7 separate regions of the Homo sapiens genome follow, and regions 1, 3, 4, 5, 6 and 7 are each linked to region 2. The links are contacts of gene promoters, found by promoter capture Hi-C in blood cells and fetal thymus (Javierre and others, 2016). All regions are on one chromosome and are shown on one strand. Each heading gives the region's core, a stretch centred on a gene start or on the middle of the fragment in contact. The rest is flanking DNA. Distances are from core to core; before and after follow the strand shown. Region 1 overlaps VPS41 (VPS41 subunit of HOPS complex). Region 2 holds the start of YAE1-DT (YAE1 divergent transcript). Region 3 overlaps VPS41 (VPS41 subunit of HOPS complex). Region 4 overlaps VPS41 (VPS41 subunit of HOPS complex). Region 5 overlaps VPS41 (VPS41 subunit of HOPS complex). Region 6 overlaps VPS41 (VPS41 subunit of HOPS complex). Region 7 overlaps CDK13 (cyclin dependent kinase 13).

Region 1 (2,700 bases), core at 186-2,685, 690 kb before region 2:
TCACACATTTTAGCCCTGACCACCATCTTTCTACATCTTTCTTCCACAGGCTGAGACTCTAAACCTCTATCACCTGGGCAGTGCCCTCCATGGTCTGGGAGTCCAGCCTTAAGCAGTGCAGGACCAAAGGACCTCTAATAGCAGGAAGGTGGGCACTGCAGGGACCAGAGAAAACTAACAAAAGTAAAGCTAAAATGAATTAATAAACCAGAAAAAAAAATAGTAAGTCCAAGCATTAATACCTTTTACAGACAAATTGAATATGAGACACACAAAAAAACAGTGAGAAAATAAAAGCCATTAAAGTACTATCTATCTCATGCAGAAAGGTACATGGCTCAGGCTGTTTCAGTGGCAAGTTCTATTAAAAACCTTCAAAGAATGGAAAATTCCCAACTTATTTAAGCTGCCCCATAAGAGGCAAATATAAAAACTTCCAAATTCATTTTGATAACCATGATATCAAAACTCCCAAACAGTACACCAAAAACAACAAAAAATATACATAAAATTCTGTCATCTCATGTAGAAATTTAAATGTAGAAAGTCTAAATATCATAAATCAAACCCCGCATATATTAATAAAAAACATGTAAGATCAAATATTGCAAAAACACAAAGACTGAGTATTAGGAAATCTGACGTCATTTGATAAGTCAGAGGAAAAAGAAAACGCAGGGCCATCTTGACAGACACTGCAGACAGCATTTATAAAGTTCAACACTTGTTTCTGATCTTAAAAAAGCTTTCAGTAAATACAAAGGTTTCTTTACCGAAGAGCTAAGAATGAAGAGCCACGAATGACCATTTGAATTCAGAAGTCAACATGATATGGAGCAATGAAATAAGAGAAACATTCCCATCATCAGCAGGAAACAACGCACAGGTGCCAACAATCACTTCTGCTTTTTTCAAAACCAACTTAGAAGTTTTAGCCAAGGCAAAAGACAAGAAAATGGAAAACGTAATAAATTGATCCTAGTTGGTATGGTCTTATTTGAAGACAGTATGACTAGAAAGAACAAAACATGGCTTCTGCCAAGACAGAGAGCTGACCTGTGCTGCTGGCCTTCTACCCCCAACTCAGCCCTGAAGACATGCTAAAAATGAGAGGAAAGAGGGATTCCAGAAATTAACATGCCCAAGTAAGAAACTATGGAGGCACTGAAACGACCCACAGTGGGGAGCCAGGGGCAACAGTAAGGATGAGGGTCAAGGAAAGCTGGTAGATCCAGCGTTGACCTCTCCCCCGGGTGCCTGGTTTTGCTTCCCCATTCACTACAGAAATGGGCAGCAACAGCCCAGCCTCACAGGGGTGAGGACTGGCCGGCTGCATTCACTCCTCCATTTTCTCCCTTCCTCCTAACAAGTAGAGATGCTTGTTAGGGGCTGCTTCCTCTGTGGATTAACTCAAAGTGCACTTCATGAAGGCTCAGAAGAGTCACCTCACAAATTCCCACACTGAATCGTATTTTTGGAGGAAGTATTCAAATAACAGAAAAAAAAAAATCCAGAAGCTGCTGTAAGACAGTGGTCCCCAACCTTTTTGGCACCAGGGACTGGTTTTGTGGAAGACAATTTTTCCACCAGGGTGAGGGTGGTGGTGATGGTCTCGGTTTGGGGATGAAATTGTTCCACCTCAGATCATCAGGCATTAGATCCTCATAAGGAGTGCAACCTAGATCCTTCGCATGCACAGATCACAGTAGGGTTCATGCTTGTATGAGAATCTAATGCTGTGGCTGATCTAACAGGAGGTGGACCGCAGGCGGTAATGCTCACTCCCCCACTGCGCACATGGACCGGTGGGTTGGAGACCCCTGCTGAAATAGGTATGAGATGTAAGGACAATCAAGTATCTTAATAAAGGTCACTAATGTCATTTCTTTAAAAAAAAAAAAAAGAAAGAAAGAAAATTATCCAAAATCCTACTGAAATTCATAATCAAGAGCCAGTCACAAAACAAACTAAAATTTTTCTTTTGCCATTTCTACCATATGCAGCGCATATACACTGTACTAGTTACTTAAAACCTTGGTTACCTTGCCTTTTGTGAAAAGGAAATGATAACCTGCACCTCAGAGGACTTTTGTAAGAATTAAATGCAATAAATGTACGTAAAGCACAAAGCTTAGTATCTGGTAATACCCAGTGAATGTGAAATACTAAAAATACAGCCATGATGTGTATTACAACCCCAACTTCACACTGCAGAACTCATGGCCTCCCTTCTAAGTTACTTCCTATCACATGACCAGACCATAAAACCAAACAGTAACACTTCTTATCTAATTACCTCATTGTTTTAAGCTATTAAAAGATGAAGATACATTACTTTTTATTTTACCACATCATTTAAAAAAATTTTTTTTCACACACATTTAAGTGTGAATCTTGTTATTAGGAATGTAAAAGGAAATGCTACCCTCTCCTATTTTAGCCAAGAACCTCTCCTGGATGCCTGTAAAGACTAAAAGTAGCCCATGACAGCCCAAATCCCTCACAACTGCCCAATCACTGGTGATGGAAATGATGACAACAGACTAAACCCTTAAGCTCTCTCAGAGGTTTCCCCACTCCCATCCCTCCCTGATGCGATTCTGAGAGACGTATTTAATCTACTCAGGTCTTTGGGGAAAACAGTCATATTCTAAAGTAAAGAACTGTGATGACATGGATGCCTGTGAATCTCTGTATTTA
Region 2 (2,700 bases), core at 96-2,595:
GGGTCAATTTTCTTAGAAAGTCATTCATATCTCTCAGGTTTTCGAATGTGTTGCTTTTGAGTTTTAGTTGGTAATTAATATTTTAATCTCCTTCTGCATCAGTGGTTATCTCATTTCTCATTCTTGTATAATTTTGTTCTCTTTAAAAATCTGGGTCATGACAGGATTATCTATCTTATTGGTGTTTTCAAATAATACAAAAAAGAATTGGACTTACTTATTCAAGTTTTGAGGTTTTCTATTTTATTGTTATCTTTATTGCTTACTACCATTTTGTTCCTAATAAAGATATATACATATATCTTAATATATTTACATTAATAAAATATACATATTTGTAGTTTATATATTTTTTATTTGTGGGATGCCAAATTCTCTCTGGAGATTTAAAATTGTAACATGAACCAACCACCCACTCCCACACACTTATGGTTCTTACTGTGCTTATTTAAAAATTTTTTTCATAGCATTTATTTATGATCTTCTAACAAACCTTATGCTACTTATATATTGCTTATTGTTTATCCTGTCAATTTTACATGACTATAAAGTCGACAAGGGTTGGGAACTTCCGTCTGTTCATTGATGTATCCCAAAGCCTGGAATGGTACCTGACACAAGGTAGGTGTTCAATAAATTGTTAGATAAATAAATCATAATCACATGACTCATTTTACCCAGGCAAAGGGCAAAACAGGAATACTACAGGTATTCATTCATTCACCAAAATAGAGTTCAGCATTTACTATGTGTCAGAACTGTCCTGGTGTTGACACAAGTCCCCACCCTTACCAAACCAACTGTTTACTTTAGGGCATATGAACAGGAATGGGAGGCAGAAGGATATCGTGAATCAATGAAAAAATATATTGGCTTTACAAATGTACTCTATATTTCTTACTAATCTCAAATTGGCTACAGTACCTCGCTTTTCGATCCTATTTTCCTTTACTCCACAATCCTAACAGTTTAAAATGTCGGCTTGTCAAATCCTTTAAATGCAGAGGAGATTCCAAAAGAGACAAAGTATTTGGGTGGTAATCGCCCATCGACTTTACTACCTTTAATAGTTTACCAAAGCGCGCGAATGTAAAACCCAGACCATGGTAAGACTACGGTGGAAATGGAAGGTGTCTCACTGAGGGTCCCGGTTGCCTTCTGCAAAGGTGAAGGTCGTGCCGGCCACGCGAGGAAATCTGCCTCGCTCACAACTCACAGGCACACATCAACACTGCCAACCGAGGGAGCCCAAAATCACCGCAAGCGAAAGGCTCCGGCGGCGGCCACGGGCCACAGCCCGCCTCCGCGCACACGCAGCCCCTCCCGAGCCTCCACTCGCCGTCTTCGCCCCGCCTTCGGACCGGAAGGAGTTGTTGGCGCTTCCGGTGGCCTGCGACCCCGTAATTGCCTCGGTGATGTCGTGGGTTCAAGCAGCCTCCTTGATCCAGGGCCCTGGAGACAAAGGGGACGTGTTTGACGAAGAAGCAGACGAGTCGCTCCTGGCGCAGCGGGAATGGCAGAGTAACATGCAAAGACGAGTCAAAGTAAACGTGGTGTGGACGGCGCGGGGTGCTGGGTTGTGGGAAGAGGCGCGGAGTTGTGAAGAAGCTGGGTCCAGAGTGGCCCCAGCCTGGCCCGGCGCTGCTCTCTTTATCCCTAGGGACCCGGTCCGACCCGCGTCTTGCTAGGATTTCTCGATGGTTACTTGAAAGCGTGTAAAACAACAAGACGCATTCTTTGAGCGCCTACGGGATGCGTTAGAAACTGAGGACCGACCAAAATTAACTATGTGTAGACTTTGAACAGTTTGCAGTTTGTTGAGGATCACAGGGAAAGGAGCTGGAGAGAAACATACACTATACTTATTATGGCTGTCAAAGGACGTGTACGCAGTTTATATGGGTGGCTTGAATGGGTAGGGAGCCTAAAGTTAAGGAGTAGTGTTAATCAAGACATATTGAAAAGATGAACTAAAGCATGCTGTCAGAGGACAATAAGGGAAAGCTAATGTGGAATACTGGTGTCTAGGTAAGGGAATATTAAAGTTGGTTTCTTTTTTATTTGTTAGATGTAACTTTTTCATCTCTAATTTGTCTCACTATTCATTGAAACTAAGCTTAATTTCTGTGTGCAGCCTACAGTATTTCTGGGTGAGGACCAAATAGTGAGGTCCACATCCACTTAATATATTTGCCAACCATTAAATTGCCGCTAAAGCTGCAGTTGGGAATCTGCCCTGTTTAATATTTCAGTAGAGTGGTATTTGCTTAGCCCAAAAACCATGTTGTCAATTACAAAAATGCTTTATGTGAGACTGGGGCCACACTAATAAGTATTGAGCATCTTTTAAATGCTGTGGCACCGTGAGAGATGCAGAACGAAATCACTACCCACAGAGCTTTTGCAGGTTAGTTGAATTTAGGTATTATGCAAAATTTCTGAAACCAGACTTCTCATCATCCTTTTTTTTTTAAACAATTTCCTCTCTCTGCTTTGCCCTGTCTCCTCACCCACCCACACCATTCCAATCAGTTGGCAAGAGCCCAGATGTGTAATTTTCCATATATCCTTTTTGTGAAGACATTGCTAATGCTGGGTTTTGTTTTTTGTTTTTTGGTTTTTTTAATCTTTTGAAGTGATTAGAAAAGTTTATTTTGTGCTTAGGATATTTTTCTAAGGCATCACAGGTTACACATCCAA
Region 3 (2,700 bases), core at 147-2,646, 740 kb before region 2:
ACTTACTGACAAAATTAATACAGAAGTGGTAATGTTCAAATTACTGTAATCCATATTGCCTTACTTGAGAAAACCCTTAGAAAAAGTAAAACTTGCTGAATACTTACTTTAATGGGACAGTCAAAAGTCTCGTGAAATTCTTCTCCAGAATACAGTCCAAATACCTGCACCTACAAAGAAAATGGATTGTATCAGCTCACCATGACAGCAATAGAGAAGGCTACTGAGTCAGTATGAACACATACTATCAATAAGAAAAGTAGAATATTTAATAATTTTAAGGCCCCGTGACCTCTATTAAATATCTAATGAAAACAATCCCATCAGCCACGTACGGTGGCTCACGCCTGTAATCCCAGCACTTTGAGAGGCAGAGGCCGAGGTGGGTGGATCACCTAAGGTCAGGAGTTGAAGACCACCCTGACCAATATGGTGAAACCCCATCTCTACTAAAAATATGAAAATTAGCCAGGCATGGTGGCGTGCATCTGTAGTCCCAGCTACTCAGGAGGATGATAGGAGAATTGCTTGAACCTGGGAGGCAGAGGTTGCAGAGAGCCGAGATTGCGCCACTGCACTCCAGCATGGGTGACAGAGTGAGACTCCGTCTCAAAAAAAAAAAAAAAGAAAAAGAAAAAGAAAAAAGAAAAAAGAAAATCCCATCAGGTTGAGGGTACTTTGCTGCAATTAAGCTTTCATAAGCATTCCATGGATAGAGTTCCCTTCAATCACCACAAATTGTATTAAATGCATGCCATTAAAACAATGAAACAGATTTGAACAAGTTATTACTATTCTTTTATAAACTTCCATAAGCTGTCCCTAAAGGAACTATTTTTTCATCCCTTAAAGGAAAGGGGAGATTTTTTTTTAGTGTCTCTCATATATATAAAATAAACCAACCATGTAGATCAGTGTGGTAAGAGATTAGGTGAACCACACTTCACTCACAACTTATGCTAAATCTACTGAGAATACAGAAATGAAAGATTTAAGTTCCTGCTTATCAGTGTCTCCCTTAAAGTTGTTCCAGGCTACTTTATTCATACTTAGTATATTTTCTGAGTGCTTTACTTAACAACAACAAAACAAAAACAAAACTGAAATATAAAACACATGCTATAAAAAATACAAATCATAAATTTATAGTTTGATGAATTTTTATGACACGAACATATCCGTGTAACCATCACTCTGATCAAGAAATAGAAGCCAATAAGCTCCTTTGTTTCCCTTTCCAGTAAATAACACCCTCCAACTAATCACTACCCTCAAAGCTACTGGCATGGATAAGTTGTGCTGGTGTTAGAATTTTGTAAGTAAGGAATCATATTCTATTTCACTGATTTATTTCATTCATTATTTAACATTTTCTTTGTGAGATTTAGCCACACTGTTGGATATAGTAGAGGTTGCTTCTTTGCCACTGCTGGGTATTATTTCATGTATGAATATATCACAATTCACATATCCATCTTCCATTGATGACCACTTAGGTTGTTTCCAGATTGGGGCTATCATGAATACTGCTGCTAAGAACATGCTTTGCAAATCTTTTGGTGGACTTATATACATATTCATGAAGGGTGTATACCTTGGAATGGAATTGCTGAGTCATAGGTTATGTGCATGTTCACATTTAATAGGCAAACCATTTCACAAAGTGGTTTCAAATTAATTATGCTCTCACCATGAGAAAGTTTGAATGTTTGTGTTCCCCCAAATTCATTACGTTGAAACCTAACCTCCAAAGTGATGGTTATTTATACTCTCAGCATAAGAATTCCATGAGATCTCAAATGCTTGGAGCTAACAAATAGTACTAGAGCCAATGAGAACTATTTCCCAACATTGGAATGTGTTCACTGTCTTTCTAGTCTCTAGTATAGTGGTATTATTCTTCTTTAACTTTTGTAGGAATTCACTGGTGAAGCCATCTAGGTCTCATGGCTTTGCTATGGTCTGAATGTATGTGTTCTCCCCAAATTCACTGTGTTGAAACCTAACCTCCAAGGTGATGGTATTAAGAAGTAGGGCCTTTAGTGAGTGATTAAATTATGAAGGTGGAGCCCTCATAGGTGAGATTGGTGCCCTTATAAGAAAGCTTGGGGTAACTAGCTATAGCTTGAGGTGACTAGCTAGTCCTTTTGCTCTTCTGCCTTCTGCCACACAGGGACACATAATTCATCCCTTCTGCCATGTGAAGTTACAATAACAAGGCGCCATCTTGGAAGCAAGGAGAGCAGCCCTCACCAGATGCCAAATGCTGGCACCTTGAAATCAGACTTCCCAGCCTTCAGAACTGTGAGAAATAAATTTCTGTTATTTATAAACTACCCAGTCTAAGGTATTTTGTTATGGCAACACAAATGGACTAAGATAGTTTCTTTGTGAAAAGGTTTCCAATTATAAATTCTATTTGAAAAATAAATATAGGACTACTTAAACTTTCAATTTCTTCTTATTTTAATCTTGGTAAGTTCTGAGTGGTTCATTCTTTCAAGCCCCAAGCAGGAAATTCACTTATGTTATAATTTTGGGAAATAGATTCATGCATTAAAAGTTAAAGTTTTGGGGACCATCCACTCATTTTGTAACTACTGTTTTTATATACTTGTGCCAAGTTTGTTATTTGGGTTCTACAAACAGGAGATAATATAATGTAAAACAGAAGGAATTTCATTTTTCCTGAGGCTGGCC
Region 4 (2,700 bases), core at 155-2,654, 820 kb before region 2:
ATGAGAGTGAGTGCTGTATAAGGGAAAGGCGTAAAGCGGAAAAACCCTACTGAGGTCAGCAGGGAAGTGACAATGGAGAAACACCAAATATGAATGTTATGTTATATGCTACATTATGCAATCCTCAGTACAACCCACATTGTTGTCATGCACGTGGCTCATTTTGGAAGAATGTGAAAAGATGACAAGTTTTGTTTCTTGGTATGCATGGTACAAAAATTGTGACTCATGTGGAGGTAGGAGCCAGAAGACCAGGAACACTGACACCTAGATTATATTAAAAAGCTCTCCTCCTTCTCCAAAACTATGGTATTCAATTGCATTTCCTCTAGTTATTTAGGGTGTGATTTCTAAAAGTGATTATTTATTTTCTACCAATATGATGGTAATATAAGCTGATTATAATTTTTTAGAAAATGAAAAAACTTGTCAACTCATCTACAACTTAATCTATGTTGTGAGGTATAAACTGATAAATTTTGATATGTTGATTATACATTGCCAATATGTTATTTCAACATTTATGAAACAACTCTTCCTTCTTTACTGTGCTGTGAAGTCTGTTTCATATATTAAATTATTGTAAAAATAGGCTCATATTCTGTGTTACGTTGGTCTAAAACCTATGTCCTTTCTTACACAATTTACTTCATGTTGTCATCCCATTTCTTAGTTTATGGGGACCAAAATGAATAAAAGCTACTTACTCAGAAGATAAACTGTCTCTTCTACAAAGTTTCTCTGTTGACAGATCTCAAGAGCCTTCAATTAAAGCAGGGTAAAAATGTTACTATAGGCGACCAAATAAGAACAAACAGTAATAAAGTCATTTAAACTTACACTTGAAAGAATTTTTCCACAGCTTCTTTAAAAATAAAACAAAGCAAACAAATAAAGAACACATCTCCCTAGAATAGCTGCACTCAGTTACCTCTCAGAGGTACTGGACTCTACACAATTCAATTTAAAACATATTTGAAGCTACTCAGAACATTTCATGAGCAAGAGTAGAAAACAAGACACCAAATGAAAAGAAAGGGCCTTTCCCACTAAGCTTTCTCTCTTTACACTACTTCAGGTTTCCTTACAGCACTGCTTCCTTCCAAATCTGTAGTCATTTGTTTAAGCTCTGTTTCCCTCCATTAAGATGTAAGGAATGTTGCTCATGGTTGAACTTTTCCTAGTATTGTGCATACCATAAGCTCAGGAAATATGAATTCATGCTGCATGAATGAACGAATGAATGATTGAATTTACTAGGAATATTTGTACTGCCAGATCACAGGGGCTGAAAGAGAACTCTGCTCAAGGATCTGTCAAAGGTGAGAAGGAAAAAACACTTTTGATGATCAAGAAGGATCCAAAAAGGAGCAACTATGCAGATGAGAGCATTTCCATTAGTCTTAAAAAAAAAAAAAAGACCTACTATATATTGATAAATTACTTACTAATTCTAAATTAATCAGGATACATTTACTATATTCTCTGTGCTGGGTGCTAGAGGGTCAGGTTAGATAGAGATGCAAAGATGACAATAATAAAAATGTTAGTGATGATTATAGGTAAGAGGAAAACAAAGAAGAGAATAATGGAGGAGGCTTAGTAGGAGCATTAGCAGCATGAGTCCACCCCCGGGAGCTCAGGGTCCAGGAAGTGACAGAGATGTGACAACGCATTATTCCACGATTAGAGTAACATGAACAAAGGGCCATGTGTACAGAGGAGGGACACTGAAACTGTGTGGTCCTCTTGTGAGAAGCTTCAAGGGGAAGTGGCATCTGAACCGGGTGCAGTATGATGAATGAGTGCACCTGGGAAACCTTATCTCATACCCTGCCTACAAAACTTTCTATTGCATCGCTCCACTCAGACTTAAAGCTGAGAATCTCTACCACGACTTACAAGGCATCCACAACCTAGCCCTTAATTTCTGTGCAGCTTCACCTGCCTCTGCTCACCTCTCCATTGCGTCCCCTTGCCTGAAATGCTTCCCTTACCCTGACTCTCCACTATTGGATGGCACTACCTTACGTCATGAGGTCAAGGTCACCCAAGGTGGACGAACAAGAGGAAGGAGCCCCGGTCTCTGACCCCGCGGCATGGTGCTCTCAGCAGGGCCACTCCACCAACACTTCCACGTGACAGAAAAAGAAACTGTTGCTCTGTTAAGCCACAATTATTTTGGGATTTTTATCACTCACAGTTGAATCTAATCCTAGCTAATACCGAGAAAATCTTCCTTTATTTTGATTAAAAATATGGTTTACCTATTCCTATATGGTCTTGCCTGTCAATCACCATTGTAAATGATGAAACTTTCTTACCAACTCTTCACTCTCCTGCAGTGATACTACTGCAGAGACAAAAAACATAAGTAAGAAGTTAAATAATAAAGCAAAATAGTGCAAATACATCAGAGGACACGGGATTCAAACAAAAAACCACTGAGAAGCCAACTGAGTGCCTAGATTTGTTCTGGGTGTTAAGATACAGATAGTTTATAGTTGAGTGGGACTGCCATTCACAGATAAATAGAACACTGTAATACAACTGAATAAGGAGAATGTTTAGAGAAAGATAGTCTGACTAATGATAAGCATTTATGCTGCTTAAAATAATTTATTATTAAAAGGTATCCATGAATCAATTCTGTACTTGGAAATTCACTTACACACTTTAAAATACCATTCAAGATTTCAG
Region 5 (2,700 bases), core at 175-2,674, 720 kb before region 2:
AACATTCCCTAGAGAGTGTAATGAATTTTTTTTCTCTAACAGTAAGGCAACAGAAATGGGGTTGTCATCGCTGAGACTATATAACTAAAAAGGAAATTATAAGTATGTTAATATTCTGTAAAATTAAGTCTTAGATCCTTAGGCTCAGATCCTTAGGCTACCCTAATCCTAAGGATCTGCTATGCCACACCTTTGAGAACAAACTCCACTAATAAAAGCAGCTAAAGAAAGCCAAACATATAGCAGACCCATGAAGGCTGCAGAGCTTTCTGAACATCTCAGCAGGGCCCATAAATATCCCTGTTTAAGTTCTCAATATACAAGTAAATGATACCATCAATGATAAAGGAAAAATCTGTTAGGAGTAAAGGTGTGTTCTTATTTTTCTCACTTTTATTTTTGATTTAATGATAGCTGCAGCAATGCTAATGCATTCTATTTATCTAAAATCTAAACATTTGAGAGAGTAAAGCCCTTGTTTTCCACATTAGTAAAGTCACTTACCTAAAAAGGGTGGGTAGTACAAATAATTTAAATAACTGAGACCAAGTTATTAACCAAAGAGAAAATGCCTAATTTATTTTTCCAACATATGACGAAGAAAGACTACTTAACACTTCACAAATTTGACTCTACTTCCACCACAGAAATTATTGTTATAATGCTCTCCAGTGTAAAAACACTGCTTTATCAATCCCCATTAAATCATTTTCCAAGCAGTCTCTCAAAACTTTTCAAAAGAAGCATCTTACAAGCCATGTTGCAATGTTGCTACATCGAAAAGACATTTCTGAAGTCAACTCACTAGACCTGCACTGGGATCGACTTCACACACCTAATTACTCAAGCTTAATAATGTTCTTAAAATACTATTTGTGTAATGTGATAAAAGATACCCACTCCTCCCAAATAAACACAGGAGCTGAGGGATAGGGAGGCAGCAAAATGGGTGTAAGAATGGGTGTGTCGCAGAAGCTTCTCTTTTTTTCCCCTTCGTTTTTCTTTCTTTCTTCCCTACCTCCCTTTCAGTTTGCCTACCCCATATACAATTGAACATTATTAAAGCCAAACATATGAATAAATTCAAAAATAATAGTTCTTCAGGAAGTGTAGTAAACATGTTCAGTTGGACTCTTAGCTTGATCCACCTTCTGATAACGACTAATGTTTACTAAGCCTTATGTTACATATTTTACATGTATTCGTTCATATAATTCTCAAAACCATCATTGAAATCAGGTGTGATTATGATCCACACTTTACAGATGAAGAAAGTGTGGTAACACACCAAACTAATGAACGTGTGGCAGGGCTGGCTGGCTGGCGTCTGACCCCAAGCCTGGCCTGCGTGCAGTGCTGCCACCTCCAGAACCCGTCAACCATCCTTCTGCTGGACATTACCGCCCCGCCAGAGTTTCTTCTCTAATCATTATATCACCACTGCTCTTTCTACATCCAATCTGGGATAGTAGATTCCACTAATGCAATGGGGTCAAGGGCTGGACAGGAGCTAAGGAAAGAAAATGGGAAATCAGTAGGTTCAAGGGACTCATTTTCGTGTAATTTTTTTTCTGGCAAGGTAAGAACTTCAGTATCTGTCACAATATCAAGGAATAAATTCTTCTCACAGTCCAGTGAGAATTTTTTTTTCTTGAGGAAAAGTGAAGACAATGTAAAAAGCAAAACTTTAAAACTTTAGAAGGACATACAAAGAATATTGAAACAGGAAAAGTTCCCTCATCTCCTTCACAGGGCATGTGATGGGAGTGTGGCTCACTTCTTCGGTGCCCTGCTGCTCAAACCCCTAGGAGGAACATGCAGATGGGTGGGCTGTGGTGCTCCTGACCCCACGGCAGCATCTAGGGGTGAATGTTTAAGCTTCTGAAGCCCCAGTGGGGGTGTGTTACAGGATGCTCTTTTAGTTTAGCCTTCTGTAGGTGGCTTGTGTTAGTCAGCTCAATCAGACCCCCTGCTTTATAGCAAGGACAAAGGGCTTTCTGTATCCTAGGGTTTCTTGCCTTGAATCAGATCACACCTGGGCTTGGAGAATTACTGCAAGGTTTTATTGAGTGGTAGCTCTCAGCAGATGGGGGAGCCCGAAAGGAGACAGTTTTCTCCTGAAGTCTGGCCGCTCAGTAGCCCGGCCTCTCCTCCAACCTCCCAGGCCAAACTCTGTGTTGTTCTACCAGTTGATGGCCTACCAGCGTGCCGGTGTCTGCCGGTGCCTGCTGGCATGCTCTTCAACCAATGTGCTCCTCTCAACATCCCGCTTGTGTGTTCTTCTGCTGATGTGCTCCTCTGGACGTCCAGCTGCTTGTGTCTCTGCCCACTAGGGCCTCAGGGGTTTTATAGGCACAGGATGGGGTGTGGCAGGACAGGGTGGTCTTGGGAAATGCAACATTTGGGCAGGAAAACAGGAATTCCTGTCCTCACCTGGGTCCTTAGGTATAGGCCCAGGGGTGGAGCCCTAGCCAGAGACACACCCTTCCCTTCCCAGCACTTCCTTGCCCCCCTTCCATATCTTTACAACTTTGTAGAAGCAAAATACAATTTTCCCTTAGAAGACACAAAACACACAAACTGTAAATGAGAAGACTGATACATATTTACTGCATTAAAATAAAAAATTTCTGAACCTAAAACACCATAAATGGGAAACTGAAAGATAAGCCCACAGACTAGCAGACATTTGTCACTCTT
Region 6 (2,700 bases), core at 49-2,548, 770 kb before region 2:
ACTCCTCAGCTCTGTGGTCTGGGCTCACCCAGCACCTGTCTCATAGGTAGGAAGTGGCAGGTAAAGGTGGGTGAATAGGTAAGTGCTACCTTAAGCTCATGTCTTGCATAAGCACAAATCAATGACTGTAAGAGCCCTTTACCACTGATAGGTGGGTTCTTGCCCATGAACTCTAATCTGCTTCCTCCACTTCTCCACATGGGTGGATAACAGGCATCTCTCAAGTAGACACACCTAAAACCAACTCTTGCCTTTTTCACTCTAAACATGCTTTATCAACAGTCTTTCCCATTTCAGCAAAAGGTAGTTTCACCTTCCAGTATGTTAGGTGACTGTGATCTTACACCCCACATCCAACTGTCAACAAATACTGCAGAGTCTACCATCAAAATATATCCAGGATCTGGTCATTTCTCACCAGCTGCATTACACTGACCTGAGACAACATTATTTTTTATGGAGATGACTGCGGTAGCCTAATTGGTCTCCCCTCTTGACTGCCCCTTTGCCGTTTAGCTCCACACAGCAACCAGAGATCCTTCCAAAATACAAGTTAGATCACTTAACTGACTCCACAACAGCTCAAAGCCCTGTGCTGGCTTCCTACCTCAGTCAAATTAAAAGCCAAAGACTTCTCAAGGGCCCCTGGGCTCCAACATCACCTGCTCCTCCACCACACCCTCCCCGACCCCCACTTACATCCCTCTCCTCCACATCTGCTCCACTCACTCTGACACAAACAGCTTCCTTGCTGTTCCTCAAAAGCACACCAATCACACTCCTGCTTCAAGAATTTTTGCACTCCTGCTCCTTCTGCTAACACCTCCTACCCCAGGCCCCCATAGAGCTGTATAACTTTTCTCTCCAGATCTCTGACCAAACAACATATTAGTTATTGGACAGGCCATCCCTGGACCACCCTATATTAAATGGTACCTACCCCAATCCCTTTTCCTATTATCCTGTTAAAATGTTCTCCTTTTTATTTGCCACCTTCAACATGCTATACTTACTTGTTTTTGTCCACCTTCCTCACTAGAACATAAATTTCCCAAGGGAAGGAACTCATTCATTTGTATATTTGTGTTCTGCAACACTAGAACACTGCCTGGCACACTGCAGGCACCTGGTAAACGTTTGTTGGGCAAATGAATGAATGAAGTAAATGGTAAGGTCCAATTGCACACTTTATTTTACTGTTTCTGGTTGCTTCTCCCCAACAAGATTGCTGTCCCTCTGAAGAAAGACCACGTCCTTATCTCCTCTTCCTTCAACAGAACTCACTAAGAGTCTACACTGAGAAGTGCTCAACATATAGAACTGAGTTTGAAGAAAAGGAACCTCCAATAAAATGAAATATTTGACATAAAAATTGTATAGAAGCTGGATCTTAACTTGGGCATAAAGAAAGGGTATATGTTTCCCATGGCTGCTATAACAGACTGCCACACTTGGTGGTTTAAAACAACAGAGATGTTGTTTTAAACATCTGTTACAGTTCCGCAGGCTACAAGTCTGAAATTGGGTTCACTGGGCTAAAATCAAGGTGTTGGCAAGGCTGTACTTCCTCTGGAGGCTCTAGGGGACAATCTGCTGTCTCCTCCAGCTTTCTGGTGGCTGCCACCATTCACTGACCACCTCACTCCAATTTCTGCCTCCACAGTGGTACTGCCTTCTCCTCCTCTCTTCCATGTTAGCATCTCCCTCTGCCTCCCTCTCATAAAGATAAACGTGATTGCATTTAGGGCCCACCCAGATAATGTAGGTTAATTCCCCATCTCAAGATCCTTAACTTAATCATATCTTTTGCTAAATAAAGTAATATTTACCTTTTTGTCATATAAAGAAACATTTATAGGTTCTAGGAATTAGGGCTTGCTATCCTTGGGGCCATTATTCAGCATACCAGAGAAAGAATTTCTGGGAGTAATGAGTAAACTTGTTACATATTTCTACAGGCTAATTTTCCTTGTCTTTCACCATAAGAAAAGAAAATCAGAACTTTAAAACTAACAAGCAACCTGGTCCATTTAAGGGATTTTTAAAATACTAAGAATATAAATTTATTGGATGAGTAACCACACACGTGGGACAGGGAGCCCAGGGAATCCCTTTTTCCATCCTACGATATAGGCACAGTTTCCTTCCTGTTACCCTAAATATAAATCAGGTTGTGTTCATGTAACACATGAAGAAAAAAGAACCTGAATGATAACAACATGAGGGCTGGGAGGGCCTGAAGTGTAACAATGTTTGTTTTGCTAATAACAATCATTACATTAATAATTTTCCACTTTCCCTTTCCAGAGAAGAGTACATTTTAAATAGCCACGTCCCCTTCATGACATTGCTAGAACTTTATATAATAATGACAGCTAACATTTATTAAGCAATTACATCAGATTCTATGCAAAACTCTTTACATGCATTGGCTCATTTATTTCTCCCCAAAACTTGTGATGTGAGAACAATTAGCACTACCACTTTGCAGATGAGGACAGTAAGGCTCACAGAGGATCCCAAAGGAAAATGGAGAAGCTGGACTTGATCCCAGGTCTGTCTGGCCTCAAAGCCTGAGCTCTTCCATGAGACTACTGCTGGGATACTCTCTCATGCCATTTTTATACTTCCACTAATTTTTAGTTTATTTTGTTCGAATTAAGCTGTCTATTTTTTAAAGGGAAACAACTTTTGGCTCTG
Region 7 (2,700 bases), core at 50-2,549, 510 kb after region 2:
TACCATTATTATGGAATCAGTGATTTGAGATTGTGTGTTTGGTTTGGTGCTTACGTGAAAGAACTTTAATAAGATCATTTAAATGTTACTGGAACAGCTTTCAAGTTACTTGAGCTCAAGTTTTCATTTTGCTTTAGAAAAAACTATACTGTTCAGTTCTTAATTTGTATAATAACAGCAAATTACCGATAAGTAACAATATATACTATTGTTTAGAAAGTGGTTACAAAAATTATGTAAAAATGAAATATTTATTCAAAGGAAAATTCGGATTTATTGAAGTAAAGTATTATGCACATATTAAAAAAGTATTTACAATTATTTTTAAATGATCTTAGTTTTAGTTTTAAAATTTAATTAAAAATAATTTAAGCTCCTAAAGAAACATAAGCTTGTGTCTAAAGAACACATCTAACTTTTGTAATCCTCTCATGCTAGTATTCCTGCAGCTGCGCTAGACTTATTTGATTACATGCTTGCCTTGGATCCTAGTAAGCGCTGCACTGCTGAACAGGCTCTTCAGTGCGAGTTCCTCCGAGATGTGGAACCCTCAAAAATGCCTCCACCAGAGTAAGTGACTTTTTATCCTATTATTATTATATATTATTATTATATTTATTATATTAAAACAGTTTTAATAACATATATAATAAGATATTTCATGTCTGGTTATGAGAAAAATATAATAAAGGAAAGATAAAACAGCAGTAATACACATAATTTGCACATCTGGGATATAGATGCTTGCTTAATGTTTACCCATAGGGCTAGCAAAAACAGCTGCCTTCTAGCTAATTTTAGGCTTGATTGACCTCAAGATTTAATAATATATTTCAACTCTAAGAAAATATTACTGCTGCCGGGCGCGGTGGCTCACGCCTATAATCCCAGCACTTTGGGAGGCCGAGGTGGGCGGATCATGAGGTCAGGAGTTTGAGACCAGTCTGGCCAACATGGCAAAACCCCGTCTCTACTAAAATTACAAAAATTAGCCAGACGTGGTGGCAGGCGCCTGTAATCCCAGCTACTTGGGAGGCTGAGGCAGGAGAATCGCTTGAACCCGCGAGGCGGAGGTTGCAGTGAGCCAAGATCATGGCATTGCACTCCAGCCTGGGTGACAAGAGCAAGACTCCGTCTCAAAAAAAAAAAAATATTACTGCTGTTGCTATTCTAATACTACTTCTACTAAATACTTAACACTACTACTGGTACAGCTATAGCCATAATTTTGAGTGCCATGCTAAGCATTTTTCATTTATTACATTAATCTTTATAACCTTATAAGGTAGGTATTAGTATTATTATCATCACCACTTCACAGAGGAGGAAGCAGGCTCAGAGAGGTTAAGAAACTTGCCCAAGAATACAAATCTAGTAAAGGGTACAGCCAGCTCTCAAATTCACATTAGTCCAATAAGTAAGAGAGGTTCTGAAAATACTTTATAGCATAGTATACAATATAAATTTCTTATCATTGAATGAAAAGAATGTTAGTATCAGAAGCCTGTATAGAAGGAATTATTGTCTGATGGGGGAAATATATAGAGTTTGGGAGTCAAAATAGCTGGCTTCTCTTGAACCTGTAACTTCAAATGGCTCCTGTTATTTCTCTAGGATTGATTTGGGGAGTAGGGGGGAAGGAAAACGTTCATTTGCATTCCTTGACAGGATCTAGAAACCTTGTAGGTATTTTCTTAGTAATTTTTATTTTATTTTTTTGTCTTGAGACAAAGTCTCACTCTGTCTCCCAGGCTGGGGTGCAGTGGCACGATCTCAGCTCACTACAACCTCTGCGTCTCAGGTTCAAGTGATTCTCCTGCTTCAGCCTCCCGAGTAGCTGGGATTACAGGCATGCACCACCACATCTGGCTAATTTTTGTATTTTTAGTAGAGATGGGATTTCACCATGTTGGCCAGGCTGGTCTTGAACTCTTGACCTCAGGTGATCCACCCACCTTGGCCTCCTAAACTGCTAGGATTACAGATTTGAGCCACCACGCCCAGCCTTTTCTTAATAATTTTTAAAATGATAAGGAGCATCATTAAAAGCAAGCCTATTATCTATAATAATAAAATGTTTCCATGTAATAAAAATAGCATATTTTAAATGAACAGACATGGGCTCTGGAGTTCAAATCCTGGTTCTTCTGCTTATCAGTTAGATAGTGCTTATTATATTTCTATGAGGCTGTCATATTCAGCTTCAGTAAGCTTTTATTGAGCTGTACATGGTTGGCCTTTATGGGATGATTTGGGAGCCAAAAAGGATCTATTACCTGACATCATGAGGGACCTGAATTTTTCACTGTTGAATTATTGTTTCATGTTTGCTTTTTTCTTAGTGTGTATCAGTAATCTTAAAACTTGGGCTCAGTACCCCTTCAAATAACATTTTTTAAACTTCTGATTTGGAAAAATTTCAACTCTATAGAAAAATAGGAAGAATAGTACAAAGAGTATTCATGTATATCCTTTACCTAGATTCAACAGTTAATAATAGTTGGACACATTTGCTTTATCACTGTCTACTTTTTTCCTGAACTAGTTGGATATCATGTTGTGGAGGTGACACTTATAAATATGTAATCATATCTGTAAGAACTAGGACTTTATTCTACATGCATACCATATAAAGCATATGAAATTTAACATGAGAATATTTAATGGTCAATCCACATTCAGATTTCCCCAGTTGACCCA

The links. Contacts are between HindIII fragments. The CHiCAGO score rates a contact against its expected background, and 5 or more counts as called.
Region 1: a contact is called between a fragment that was not itself captured here and the fragment with the promoter of YAE1-DT in region 2, in 2 of 17 cell types (total B cells and erythroblasts). The highest score is 5.8, in total B cells.
Region 3: a contact is called between a fragment that was not itself captured here and the fragment with the promoter of YAE1-DT in region 2, in 3 of 17 cell types (naive B cells, total B cells and M1 macrophages). The highest score is 5.5, in naive B cells.
Region 4: a contact is called between a fragment that was not itself captured here and the fragment with the promoter of YAE1-DT in region 2, in 2 of 17 cell types (M0 macrophages and M1 macrophages). The highest score is 5.3, in M0 macrophages.
Region 5: a contact is called between a fragment that was not itself captured here and the fragment with the promoter of YAE1-DT in region 2, in 1 of 17 cell types (erythroblasts). The highest score is 5.1, in erythroblasts.
Region 6: a fragment that was not itself captured here is called in contact with the fragment with the promoter of YAE1-DT in region 2 in 4 of 17 cell types (megakaryocytes, fetal thymus, M1 macrophages and 1 more); the score reaches 6.4 in megakaryocytes.
Region 7: a contact is called between a fragment that was not itself captured here and the fragment with the promoter of YAE1-DT in region 2, in 1 of 17 cell types (activated CD4 T cells). The highest score is 5.3, in activated CD4 T cells.

What each region holds. Positions count from the first base shown.
Region 1 is chr7:38,878,003-38,880,702 of GRCh38, forward strand. The region is part of intron 2 of VPS41 (VPS41 subunit of HOPS complex); the gene reads right to left. Among named protein-coding and RNA genes, the nearest start is that of VPS41, 30 kb to the right of the region's middle. The HindIII fragment of the contact is 1,385 bases long and covers 744-2,128 here.
Region 2 is chr7:39,565,004-39,567,703 of GRCh38, forward strand. YAE1-DT (YAE1 divergent transcript) reads right to left here and starts at 1,346. Exons shown (of 3, transcript NR_187579.1): 1 at 1,140-1,346. YAE1 (YAE1 maturation factor of ABCE1) reads left to right here and starts at 1,401. Exons shown (of 3, transcript NM_020192.5): 1 at 1,401-1,544. The coding sequence starts at 1,416. It also overlaps the pseudogene TMX1P1. RefSeq lists an enhancer at 1,238-1,687. The HindIII fragment of the contact is 5,827 bases long and covers 1-2,114 here.
Region 3 is chr7:38,821,096-38,823,795 of GRCh38, forward strand. VPS41 (VPS41 subunit of HOPS complex) reads right to left here. Exons shown (of 29, transcript NM_014396.4): 6 at 108-170. Among named protein-coding and RNA genes, the nearest start is that of VPS41, 87 kb to the right of the region's middle. The HindIII fragment of the contact is 1,412 bases long and covers 691-2,102 here.
Region 4 is chr7:38,744,852-38,747,551 of GRCh38, forward strand. It overlaps VPS41 (VPS41 subunit of HOPS complex), which reads right to left. Exons shown (of 29, transcript NM_014396.4): 23 at 708-762. Among named protein-coding and RNA genes, the nearest start is that of AMPH, 110 kb to the left of the region's middle. The HindIII fragment of the contact is 705 bases long and covers 1,053-1,757 here.
Region 5 is chr7:38,847,407-38,850,106 of GRCh38, forward strand. The region is part of intron 4 of VPS41 (VPS41 subunit of HOPS complex); the gene reads right to left. Among named protein-coding and RNA genes, the nearest start is that of VPS41, 60 kb to the right of the region's middle. The HindIII fragment of the contact is 903 bases long and covers 974-1,876 here.
Region 6 is chr7:38,792,139-38,794,838 of GRCh38, forward strand. All of the region lies in intron 9 of VPS41 (VPS41 subunit of HOPS complex), which reads right to left. Among named protein-coding and RNA genes, the nearest start is that of VPS41, 120 kb to the right of the region's middle. The HindIII fragment of the contact is 7,889 bases long and covers 1-2,700 here.
Region 7 is chr7:40,078,282-40,080,981 of GRCh38, forward strand. CDK13 (cyclin dependent kinase 13) reads left to right here. Exons shown (of 14, transcript NM_003718.5): 11 at 439-570. Among named protein-coding and RNA genes, the nearest start is that of MPLKIP, 55 kb to the right of the region's middle. The HindIII fragment of the contact is 1,820 bases long and covers 390-2,209 here.